Regions from separate parts of the Homo sapiens genome. Here all the other regions are linked to region 2. Evidence: promoter capture Hi-C in 16 types of primary human blood cells and fetal thymus (Javierre and others, 2016). All regions are on one chromosome and are shown on one strand. Each heading gives the region's core, a stretch centred on a gene start or on the middle of the fragment in contact. The rest is flanking DNA. Distances are from core to core; before and after follow the strand shown.

Region 1 (3,214 bases), core at 503-3,002, 310 kb after region 2:
GAGAAGGGACCCTGCTCCTCAAGGAGTGGTGCGGGTGGGAGACAGTACATCTTGAAGCCAGGGGTGAGGGTCAGCATCCAGAGGGGACACACACACACACACAGCCCTGCCAGCCACAGTGCCTCAAATCTCACCAATAGACATTCAATCTTTTGCATGCAATTCTGTGGCCAAAAATTCAATCAAGATTCATGATACAAATCCTTATTACACACAGATCACCAGGCCACGTAAAAAGCCCAAGGAATTCCCAACAGTGGCAGCACAAAAACTTAAAAGAACTTGAACTTTGAAAACAAATAGACCTAGAATCAGGCCCTGGCTCTGCCATTTTCTGGCCATAAGAATCTTGGGCAAGTCACTTCACCTCATTGGGCCTGTTTCTTCAGCCATAAAATGGGAATAATAATAATAGTACATTCTTTTCAGATGTATTAAACATTCTTTTCACATACATTCTTTTCAGATGTATTAAATAAATAAAAATCCCTCATAAATAAATAATAATAGTACATACTTCCCAGGGCTGTTTGATGGACAAAATAAAAACAACACATGTAGCTGGGCATGGTGGCTTATGCCTGTAATCCCAGCACTTTGGGAGGCCAAGGCAGGAGGATCGCTTGAGCCCAGAAGGTCAAGACTAGCCTGGGCAACATAAGGAGACTCCATCTCTATAAATATATATTTTTTTAATGAGCCAGGCACAGTAGCACACACCTGTGGTCCCAGCTATTAATACTCAGAAGGCTGAGGTGGGAGAATCGCTTGAGCCTGGGAAGTGGAGGCTACAATGAGCTGTGATTGTGCCACTGCACTCCAGCCTGGACAAGAGAGCTGAGATTCTGTCTCAAAAAACAAAAAATAACACATGTAAACCATTAAGTTCATTGTCTGGCAGATATTGAGAGCTCAATAATTACTAGCTACCACTGAAACATAATGCAAGATAGCAAAAGCTTTCCAGGAGTATGTTTCTAATCCTAGAGTTTTATATCTGGAAATAGACAAGAGATCCAAAATTTATGTACAAGGGTATTCATTGCAATGCTTTCTATAGAGGCAAAACCCAGCGGCAGCAGATAGCTATACAGACTCTGTGCAGTGTACCCAGGACATGATGTGACTAGTAAAAGGAATGCCATGGCTCCGTAAACACCGTCATGAAGAGATGCCCGTGAGGAGTCAAGTGAAAAACAGCAAGTCCCGGAATAATACATGCAATATGATATTATCCAGTGAAAAATATCTAGATTTATATATATACATTCATACATGTATGTACTTGTATATGCACAAAAAAATTCTAGAAGGCTACAACACATGTCTTAACGTAATTACCTCTGGAGGCTGAGGAGGGAGACAGCCATTCTTTTACTTTATACACTCGTATAAAGTTTCATTTTTTTTCATAGGTGGTGGTGGTGGTGTTGTTTTGGAGGCGAATCTCACTGTGTCACCCAGGCTGGAGTGCAGTGGCACGATCTCAGCTCACTGCAACCTCCGCCTCCCGGGTTCAATCAATTCTCCTGCCTCTGCCTCCCGACTAGCTGGGACTACAGGAGTATGCTGCCACCCCTGGCTAATTTTTTGTATTTTAGTAGAGACGGGGTTTCACCGTGTTGCCCAGGCTGGTTTCGAACTCCTGAGCTCAGGCAATCTGCCCACCTCAGCCTCCCAAAGTGCTAGGATTACAGGTGTGAGCCATCGCACTGGGCCAGGTTTGTTTGTTTGTTTAAGAGACAAGGTCTAGCTGTGTTGCCCAGGCTGGAGTGCAGTGGCACAATCACAGCTCACTGCATCCTTGACCTCCCAGACTCAAGTGATTCTCCCAACTCAGCCTCCCAAGGAGCTGGGTGCACCGTGCACACTATCAAACCTGGCTAATTTTTTTAATTTTTTGTAGAGATGAGGTCTCATCATGTTGCCCAAGCTGGTCTAGAACTCCTGGGCTCAAGCAGTCCTCCCACTTTGGCCTCCTAAAGGACTGGGATTACAGATGTGAGCCACTGCTCTTGGCCTGAATTTTTTTAGTTTTAATTAAGGACATGTATCACTTTCTAATTAGAGGAAGAAAGTATCAGAGAGAGATACAGAGAGAGAGAGAGAAGTACTCATTCTCGAACATTCCATGCCAGCTCTCCCATGTGGGCCCTTGCACCTACCTTCTCTGCCTGCATCACCCTCCTTCCAAATAACTGCAGGCCATGTTTCCTCGCTTCCTTCAGGCTCTATGCAGATGCCACCTCCTCTGTGAAGCCCTCCCTGACCAGCCTATTCATAAAACAGCAATGCCATCTCCTCCCATGTCTGTTCTCCCTGCCATCTTCCCGGCTTTCTTGTCCTCCATTGTCCTCACTCACTCTGTGACATGCCCTTTATTTTATTTGCTGGTTAATTGTCTATCTTGCCCCAACTAGAATGACAGCTCCAGAGGTCAGGGGCTTGATATCTTTCATTCACTGCTCCTTCCCCAGCGGCTGGCATGTAGCGAATGCCTGTGTCCTGACAGCACTAGGTCACTAGCCCAAAAGATCAAGCTTTGAGCCATCTACCTTGACTTCACAGATTTAAAGAGATGGGATCTGTTGGCAATTCTGTTTCCAAGAATCCGTCCTCTCAATATACTCACACTAGTGCCCAGAAATGTACGTGCAAGAATGTTCAATGCAGTGCTGCTCCTAAAAGCTAAAAACTGGAACTAACCCACAGACCTATTCATAGAGGACCAGCTTCACAGTTCCTGATGCATCCAAGTTATGCAGCAGTGGGCAGTTGTTAAAAAGAATAAGATGGCCAGGTGTGGTGGCTAATGCCTGTAATCCCAGCACTTTGGGAAGCCGAGGCCAGTGGATCACCTGAGGTCAGGAGTTCAAGACCAGCCTGGCCAACATGGTGAAACCCCGACTCTACTAGAAATAAAAAAGCAGCTGGGCATGGTGGCACATGCTTATGGTCCCAGCTACTCTGGAGGCTGAGGCAGGAGAATCACTTGAACTCAGGACGCAGAGGTGCAGTGAGCTGATATCGCAACACTGCACGCCAGCCTGGGTGACAGAGCAAGACTCCGTCTCAAAAAAAAAAAAAAAAAGAATAAGGTAACAAAAGAATAAGATGAATCTAAATCCCTCTCATGAAAGTATATCCATGCTATAGACTTACAGAAAAAAGCATATGGCAGGACATAGCTATCATTTTATATTACTAGTCAAAA
Region 2 (2,820 bases), core at 157-2,656:
AAGAGGGTTTTTTTCCTTCTTGCCAAGAATCCCAGCCTCACCTCACTCCATCTTGCCCACAGTTCACTTGTCTGATTTTCCAGTAGGAGAAACCAAGGCTCACAGAGGTCAAGTGAGTTTGCAGTTGGGAGTTTCAAATATACTCCCATCCCTTCTTGAAACCCACTTGTGTACTACCGAGTGTGGGTAACTTTCCCCAAGGTCACAAGTACACGGTGGACAGAGGATTAGAAGCTAGAGCCAGGTGAACCCTCGGTTAAATTAAGTAACCATCAGATTTATTCTCCAATCGGGCTTGCTTCAATGGTTTGAATCATTGCTGCTCTTCAGACAAAGCAAATGAGAAGGGTTAAACGTGCAAGTGCTGAAGAATTGAACTGTTTTAGATCATCCCTGTTCAGTCCTTTGGCCTGAGCTCAGGCCATGATGGTTGGTGGATGCCCTTGAAAGTCACACAATACAGGGGTCGCATGGCCACAGCCACCATCTCATGTAGACCTTTGTTGGGGAATTCCTGGGGCCATCAAAGTCTTCATTGCATGAGAAGAACCAGGAGACCAAAGAGGGGTAGTGACTTTCCCAAGGTCATACAATAAATTGATGGCAGAGCTGTGGTTGAAGGCAGGTCTCCCAACCCTCCCCTCACCCAACACACAAACATGCATTCTATCATTTTGACACCTTTCTCTTCTCCTTCAAGCTGCCCTGGATGGAATTCCGGTCAACCCCTGAGGTTTGGCTTGCAGACCTCTCACAGGTCTATTTGGCAGCCAGCAGAGTTGTCCAGAGCCAGCACTAGTACCTACAATTTGGAGACAACTGGTGACTTTGTGCAAAATTCCATCTATTGGCTGACTCAGCTAAAGCTCCATCCTTGTGGTGGAAGGCTGGAAATGAAAGGTCTTTGGTCCAAAGAGCCAGTTGTGCCCTTCTTAGGGAGGTAACTTTGACCACAGCCTCTGAATCTCTTTTGGGCAACAGACCCTTTATGAATCCAATGGAAGCTAAAGATCCTAGTCTCAGAAAAAATGCATCAAAATGTATAAAATTGGGTGAAGAATTTTAGGAGGTTTTTGGATCATCTGTATCCACATTGGTAACCTCAAGCTAAAACTTATGCCTTAGAGGCTTTCATTTACGGCATTAATAGTGCCCATTTCTATATCAATGTTACTGGTCTCTTAGGACAGCAGAGCAAATGGCCATCCCCACATCCCTGACATTGGCCAGGTCTGTTTCTCTTGCACAGCCCCCAGTGAGTGATCAAGATCACTCACTGCCCCACAGGGCAGGAGCCTGAGATCCCTGCCGTTAAGGGTAGCAGAGGGGCCACAGAATGGATGGCTCTTACCTGGACTTCTTAGAGGTCTCAGCAGCTGTCCTGGTCTCCTCTCTCTCCCCCACTCACTTCTGCCGAGGAGTCAGCCTCTTTTATAGTATGGGGACGAGGAAGCATGTGTTGGGTGATGGGTTTCTAGATAATTGAGAATTCTGCAATCTGACAGTGTCTTTCAGGGCTCTCCAAAGTAAATAATTGCCAATCACATTAGCAGGTGAGACAGTTAAGCTATTTGGTCAACAAGATAAACAGAGAAAAACCTGAGATGGGATGTTACTCAAGACTTTATGGTTTCCTGAGCGGAGCCAAGGTTGGGGACCCACGCTCCCAAGGTAGCTTGGAGCATTGAAAGGAGCAGCCAGACAGAGCCCAGGAAGGGACCTCAGTCTCATCTCTTGGCCCCTTTCCTCTCCTGCTCTAATTTTTTTGCTCCAGTTGGAGGATTCTTTCTCCTAAAATGTCAAAAGAGTCACACTGCATCCTACATCTGGGGTGCGTCTCCATTCCAGGGCAAGGGTCTCCTGTTTTCAGAGCCCCTATTGCACGTCAGGAGCTCTCTGTCCTCACAAGAACCCTGAGAGGGAGAGGTGACTCCTCCTCTTTTATAGAGGAGGAAACTGAGATCCAGTGGGGACAAGTGCTGAAAGACCCAGAGAGGATGCAGCAGAGTTAGAATGCAACTGACTGGAGAATGAAAACAACAAAAACAACGCCAACAGCAGACACTGGCCGAGCTCCTGCTGTATGCCTGGCCTGCCATGGTGTTCACAGGCAGCATCTCACAAAATCCTCACAACCCTGTACTCCTATTCTATAAGGGGGAAACTGAGGCTGAGTGTGAGGCAAGTTGTCCAGAGATGCAGTGCTTGCCTGGGGTGAGACATCCACATTCAGGTCCTTTCCCCGAATCACTGCACTGAGAGATGAAGGTGCCTCCCAACACTTGCTGGCCATTTTGATTTCCCCACCTGTGAACTTTACACTTTCATGCGTCCCTTTTTATTTTTTAAATTTTCACTTAATTTTTATTTTATTTTATTTTTTGAGACAGTCTTACTCTGTCGCCCAGGCTAGAGTGCAGTGGTGTGATCTCAGCTCATGACAACCTCCACCTCCCGGGTTCAAGTGATTCTCCTGCCTCAGCCTCCTGAGCAGCTGGGACTACAGGCGAGCGCCACCATGCCTGGCAAAGTTTTTGTATTTTTAGTAGAGATGGGGTTTCACCATGTTGGCCAGGCTGTCCTCGAACTCCTGACCTCAGGTGATCCACCTATCTCAGCCTCCCAAAGTGCTGGGATTACAGGCGTGAGCCACAGTGCCCCGCCGCTTCTCTTTTAGGTCCTGGAAAAGTCTTTCCAGGTTCCCAGGCCTGAGGGATCCTTTGGCATCCTGGTCTCTATCCTACCCTTTCTTCTACCTTTCCCTAAATGGAGTAATCAGGCATTTATTTATCCCCACCACTGGGGCCCTTGGAGTCTGTT
Region 3 (2,931 bases), core at 322-2,821, 340 kb after region 2:
GTCTCGATCTCCTGACCTCATGATCCACCCACCTCGGCTTCCCAAAGTGCTGGGATTACTGGCGTGAGCCACCGCGCCCGGTGACTAACTAGTTTTTCAAAAGAAAAGAAAAAACTTCACTCTAGGGTAGAGGAATCTAGACTGAAGGAAACAGATTGGAACCATCTGCAAAGAACCAATGCTGCCAGTTACTGAACACATACCACAGAGGATTCCCTCATGCAACCCTTCAGGAAGTGAGGTACGTGCTTTCACACCCTTTCACAGATGAGGGAACTGAGGGTCACAGAGGAGAAAGTAACTCACAGTCATCCCTTCATTCAGAAAACATTTCACTGACTGCCAATCACTCTGTGCTGGCTTCTATGCTGAGTTTTGCATATAGATTGGGAGATAAAAGAGGCTGCTGTGTTCTCACCGTGCTGCTGCTGGCAATGCTGGAAAAACTAAACCCCAGAGTCCATACACCAACCACCATCTGCCACTGTCAGCCCCCATGGTCCACTCACCACCCCCCTCCCTTCCAGCCCCACCGCCTTAGCCAGGAGAGAAGCACTTCTTACCTGGGTTTCTTAGAGGCTTTGGCTGGCAATATTGTCAGCACCAGAGAGGACTTCTCGATGGCTGAACAGGAGACTACCACATTCATCTGGGGGATGAACTTGACCTGCTCACACCAGTTGGGATGGAGAGCCTGGGAAGACAGTAGCAATGGTGGGAGACTCCACCCAAGGACAACTTTCTAGGCCCAGCCCCCAGAACATGACCAGGTGCTGGGACTGGAGGTGCCCAGAGATCACGGAGTCTAATGCCCTTCTCCTAGTGATCACAAAGTGATGTGGCCCCGCAATCCTAGCCCAGGTCCTATGACCAGCACTGGCCATCTCTCGTCACTGAAAATTTTTAAAAGCACACAAGCCTACTTTCATTTGAAATCTTGTGAGTTAGAGGATGGGGAAGGTCAGGCCCATACTAATCATCTCCCACGAGGAGAGAAAGGATGAATTCAAGTCTGTCCAGGCCACAATCTAGTTATCCACAGGGAGCCCCCTCTACAGATGGGCTGTGCTCCCAGCCCACTGCCACCCTCCATGTTTGTCATAGCGTGGAGTGCTCAAGGAAGCGCGGAGGGCATGAGAATGTGCATTTCACGGCAACTTGAACCACAAAAGATGACGCGCAGTCGAAGGGGCTGGCTGGGCTCTGAATTCTCCGGCGCCAACTCTGTGACCTGGACCAGTGCTTGGCCTCCCAATCTAGAGATTTTCCTCTCTGTGACGAGAATGGAAAAGGCGGGTTGGAGAGATTGGCTCATCAAATATTTCTTTGGTGCTTTCTACATGCAAGACCCTGAGCTGGGTTTTACACACACTGTCACCAAGCATCTGTCGCAATGAAGGCACCGAATCCAAGACACTGAGTGAGACCTGGAGGGAAAACCAAGCCCAAGATGAGCTTCCCACAGAAGACAGAAGAGCGGGTGCAGTGGCTCACACCTGTAAACCCAGCACTTTGGGAGGCCAAGGTAGGTAGACCAGCCTGGGCAACATAGTGAGGCCCCGTCTCAAAAAAAGAATTAAAAAATTAGCTGGGTGTGGTGCTTGTATTCCCAGCTACTCGGGGGCCTGAGGTGGGAGGATCACCTAAGCCCGGGAGGTCAAGGCTGCAGTGAGCCATGATCGCACCACTGCATGCCAGCCAGGGCAGCAGAGTAAGGCCCTGACTCAACCAAAAAAAAAAAAAAAAAGTCAGTGCAGGCCTGTTGGATCACCCAGACCGCCCTGAGTGCGTCATTCATTCATTCATTTGTGCAGCAAATGTATTGGGAGCCCACCAAGCGCAGGGTACTATTTTAGGCACTGGAGACAACCGAGAGCACGAAGCCGCTGCCGTTGAGGAGCTGTCGATCTCGTGAAGGTGACAGCATGAGGAATCAATGGTCGGACCACACAAAGCTGGGAGCTGGTAAACACTGCGGGTGAAGGGATGAAAGCAGAGGTGGGCACAGGGTTGTCCTAGGAGGGCTGCTTGGGACCACAGGAAGTAGATAGGGGGAATACAGGTACCTTAGGGGAGAGCCCCGCGGCCTGAAGGCGCAGCACATGCCGAGGCACAGAGGCGGGAAGGGGCTGAGCCCATTCAGGGAACAGCAGAGGAGCCTGCGTCTCTGCAGGAGAGCAGATGGGGAGAAGGAAGGTTGAAAACAAGCCCAGAGCTTGCAAGCAGGAGCCAGATCACCTCACGTCCTGACGGCCATGGTAAGGACTTGAGATTTTGTTCCAAATGTGATGAGAAGCTACCGGGGTGACTCAACTGTATTTCTAACTCATCATTCCTCTGGCCCTGAATGGAGACAGTGCTGCATGAAGAAAGGAAGTGGGGAACCCAGCTAGAGGCCACTGCAGCCATCCAGGAGCGAGGCGGTGTCGGCCAGGACCAGGGCTTAGCAATGGCGGTAGTGAGAGGGGCATGGCCACAGAGATGTGGTCTGCAGATAGAGCTGACGGGATCCAACAGCTGCCGCAACCTGTTTCCAGAGACCAAACCCCAAGGGCTAAGACTGAACCCAGGGAGTAAATCCACTTTTTGCATTTATTTTGAGTGGTGTGTGTGTACAGATAATTACCATTGTAACAGGCCAAGGAAAGAAAAAACTCACCTTCAGCCGGTAGCTTCTATGCAAAGCAGACTTCTCATTTAAGAGTTTCTGCAAGGAAACTTTGATCCAGTGATCTGATAGGGGAAAAAACCAAGGTCCACATCAGCAGCTTTCCCCCTTCGCTTGGCAAGCAAAGCCTCAGAAGACGTCTTGAGTTGGCTTGCAACTCCTGTGCTTCTCAAAAGGCTTTTCCACCCAAACCCTCACTGGCACCTCACTGTGTCCTGGTGAGCTGAGCGGAGTGCCCCCACCCCAGGAAAAAGACTCAGGCA
Region 4 (3,104 bases), core at 564-3,063, 290 kb after region 2:
ATGGTAGAATAGGAAGATCCAGAACTTCCTTCTCCCTATGGAGACACTGACTGAACAACAGTACATGGACCAGAAACCAGGACCATTCATCCCAGATGAATGAAAAAACAAACAAACAAAAACCAAAAAAACAAAAAACAAAAAACCAGCTGCACTGAAGCCAGTAGGAAAATTCATAGTGCTCACTTGTAATCCCTCCTCCTGGCTCAGTGAAGCAGATTGGGAAGGAACCACCAGCTTCCAGCTTCTCCCTGGGAGGGAAAGACTGAGATGTACATCCAACATGCAGACTTTTCAGAGGGCTGCATGATTAACCAGTTTCTGTCTTGCCTGAATCTAAGCACTGACAGGAAGAGGCACCAGACTGGGCTACTAAGAACAAAGGTGACAATTTAGACTAGCACACACTATCAGAGTCCCTCCTGCCGCTCTGTGGAATGAGTAGAGAAAACAACCCAACTTCCAGCTTCTCCTTGAGGAGGCAGATTTGGAGCATACATATCCAATGTTAGCCTTTGAGGGGTACCCAAGAAACTGGTTTCTGTCTTGCCTCTCTCAGACTATTGAAGGACCCAGCATATTCTAGAGGCCTGGGGGAAGCTTGTAGCCGCTCTAGAGAACTTGCAGTACTGCAAATAGACACCAGAGAGAGCAAGAGATAATGGACTCCTGAAAAAAATAAACCTGTAGATTCCTGTAATTGCGAATTTACATGCGTAAGTCTGGTGAAAGTATCCACAAAAAAGATTGGGGAGGCACCCAGAATCTTTAGCCAAGCTGATTGGTGCAGAATTTTCCCTGAATGAAGCCAGTATATAAAGACTGGGAGAGGTGGCTGATTTTACAAATGCATGGATCCCAATATAAAGTTATAAGGCACACAAAAAAAATAGGAAAGCATGGCCCAAAGGAACAAAATAAATCTCCAGAAACTGCCGCTAAAGAAATTGAGGTATATTAATTATTTGACAAAGAATTCTAAGTAACCGTAATAAAAATGCTCAACAAGCTCAGGGAAACAATACATGAACAAACTGAGAATATTAGTGAAGACACAGAAAATATAGAAAAGAACCAAACAGAGGCCAGCCATGGTGGCCCACACCTATAATCCCAACACTTTGGGAAGCTTAGGTGGGCGATCACTTGAGCTCAAGAATTCAAGGCCAGCCTGGGCAACATGGTGAAACTCTGTCTCTACAAAAAATACAAAAAATTAGCCAGGCATGATGGCATGCACCTGTAGTCCCAGCTACTCAGGAGGCTGTGGGAAGATCACTTGAGGCTGGGAGGTCAAGGCTTCAGTGAGCTGAATTCGTGCCACTGCACTCAACCCTGGGTGGCAGAGCAAGACCCTGTCTCAAAAAATAATAATAATAATAATAAAAATAACAGAAATTCTAGAGCTGAAGATGAAGAGTAAAATAATTGAATTCAAAAGTCATCTACAGCAGGCTTGATCAAGCAGAAGGAAAAATCAGCAGACTTGAAGATATCCAGTCAGAGAAGCAAAAAAGAAAAAAGAATTTTAAAGAGTAAAGAAAACTTAAGGGATTTATGAGACATCGTCAAATGGACAATATATGCATTATGGTAGTACTAGAAGGAGGAGAGAGAGACAGAGAGAGAGAAAGGGACAAAAAGCTTATCTGAATAAATAATGGCTGAAAATGTTTCAAATCTTAAAAAGGAAAAGAAACCTATATTCAAGAAGCTCAAGGGATTCCAACTAGGATAAAGTCAAAGAAATCCACAAGGAGACACATTATAAAAAGAACAAAAACTCTCATCCAAAAATACTATATCCAGGAAAGCTGTCCTTTAAAAATGAAGGAAAAATAAAAATTTTCCCAGATAAATAAAAACAAGAGGAGTTCATCACCATTAGACCTGCCTTTAAAGAAATGCTAAAGGGACCCCTTCAAGTTGAAACAAAAGGATGCTAGGCAGGAACATGAAAGCATATGAAAATACAAAGCTTTCTGATAAATGTAAACACATAGAAAAATACAGAATGCTGTAATACTGTAATAGTGGCACATAAGTCACTTTATTTTTATTATTATTTTTTTTTTAGACAGAGTCTCACTCTGTTGCCCAGGCTGGAGTGCAGTGACATGATCTCAGCTCACTGCAACCTCTGCCTCCCAGGTTCAAACGATTCTCCTGCCTCAGCCTCTCAAGTAGCTGGGATTACAGGCATGCACCACCATGCCTGGCTAATTTTTGTATTTTTAGTAGAGACAGGTCACTAAAACAAACAAACAAACACATAGGAAGACAGCACAGGAGGAAAAGGGGACAAAAAAGTGTTGGGATTACAGTAGTGAGCCACCGCGCCTGGCCCTAATTATTTCTTGACATGAACGGTGGCTATATGGGTATGTATTTACTTTCTCAAAATTCACCAAGCTGAACCCTTCTGGTTTGTATGTTTTTCTTTATATACAATGCAACAATTAAGTTTATTTTTTAAAAGAGAAAGGAATATGCTTTATCAGATATATGATTTGCAAAAATATACATAGGTGAATAATATTGGGTGGATGGGTGAATGGATGGACCGTTTGCTGAATGGATAATTGGACAGACTGTAATATTATTTAAGTGAAGGCAGTTGCTGTGGCCTGAGAGTCCCTCCCCACAGAGTACAAAGTTCATACCAGCTTATGTTCAGACAGGGACAGAGACAAGAAGGGCCATGGGCATGGCTGAGCTTCAGCAGGACCCATACCAATGGCATCACCGGAGAGTTTCCAAGCCTTGACGTCCCGGTCCTGGCCAGCGCTGATAACCAGCTGGAAGTTGTCCACATACAGGATGTCTGCCACACTATTCAAATGGCCTTTCCAGGTCATCAGGAGCGTGGGGGGAACCAGGGAAATGGTATGGCCAGCCACAACCTATAGGGGACAGTACAGGAGAAACACTTTTACCAAGACCACTACACAGGCTAATTAGAAGGCACCCAGGACTGCAGGCAGCAGAGCCCAGTTGGAAGGGCCCTGGGACACAGGCTAGCGTTCTAGTTCTAGATGCATTCCACATGAACTTGCTTGCGACCTTACATAGGTCCCGGCACTTCTCTGGCCCTCACTGGCCCC

Evidence for each region. The method cuts DNA at HindIII sites, captures the fragments that hold promoters and counts their contacts. A CHiCAGO score of 5 or more calls a contact.
Region 1: a fragment that was not itself captured here is called in contact with the fragment with the promoter of BPIFA1 in region 2 in 6 of 17 cell types (M1 macrophages, M0 macrophages, endothelial precursors and 3 more); the score reaches 6.8 in M1 macrophages.
Region 3: a contact is called between a fragment that was not itself captured here and the fragment with the promoter of BPIFA1 in region 2, in 2 of 17 cell types (M1 macrophages and naive B cells). The highest score is 5.7, in M1 macrophages.
Region 4: a contact is called between a fragment that was not itself captured here and the fragment with the promoter of BPIFA1 in region 2, in 1 of 17 cell types (endothelial precursors). The highest score is 5.5, in endothelial precursors.

What each region holds. Positions count from the first base shown.
Region 1 is chr20:32,921,709-32,924,922 of GRCh38, reverse strand. All of the region lies in intron 20 of EFCAB8 (EF-hand calcium binding domain 8), which reads right to left. Among named protein-coding and RNA genes, the nearest start is that of EFCAB8, 64 kb to the right of the region's middle. The HindIII fragment of the contact is 1,581 bases long and covers 962-2,542 here.
Region 2 is chr20:33,234,582-33,237,401 of GRCh38, reverse strand. It overlaps BPIFA1 (BPI fold containing family A member 1), which reads right to left and starts at 1,406. Exons shown (of 9, transcript NM_130852.3): 1 at 1,352-1,406. The HindIII fragment of the contact is 3,888 bases long and covers 1-2,820 here.
Region 3 is chr20:32,896,256-32,899,186 of GRCh38, reverse strand. It overlaps EFCAB8 (EF-hand calcium binding domain 8), which reads right to left. Exons shown (of 27, transcript NM_001143967.2): 10 at 2,660-2,733; 11 at 564-694. Among named protein-coding and RNA genes, the nearest start is that of EFCAB8, 39 kb to the right of the region's middle. The HindIII fragment of the contact is 5,318 bases long and covers 1-2,931 here.
Region 4 is chr20:32,943,435-32,946,538 of GRCh38, reverse strand. EFCAB8 (EF-hand calcium binding domain 8) reads right to left here. Exons shown (of 27, transcript NM_001143967.2): 23 at 2,735-2,903. Among named protein-coding and RNA genes, the nearest start is that of SUN5, 59 kb to the left of the region's middle. The HindIII fragment of the contact is 334 bases long and covers 1,647-1,980 here.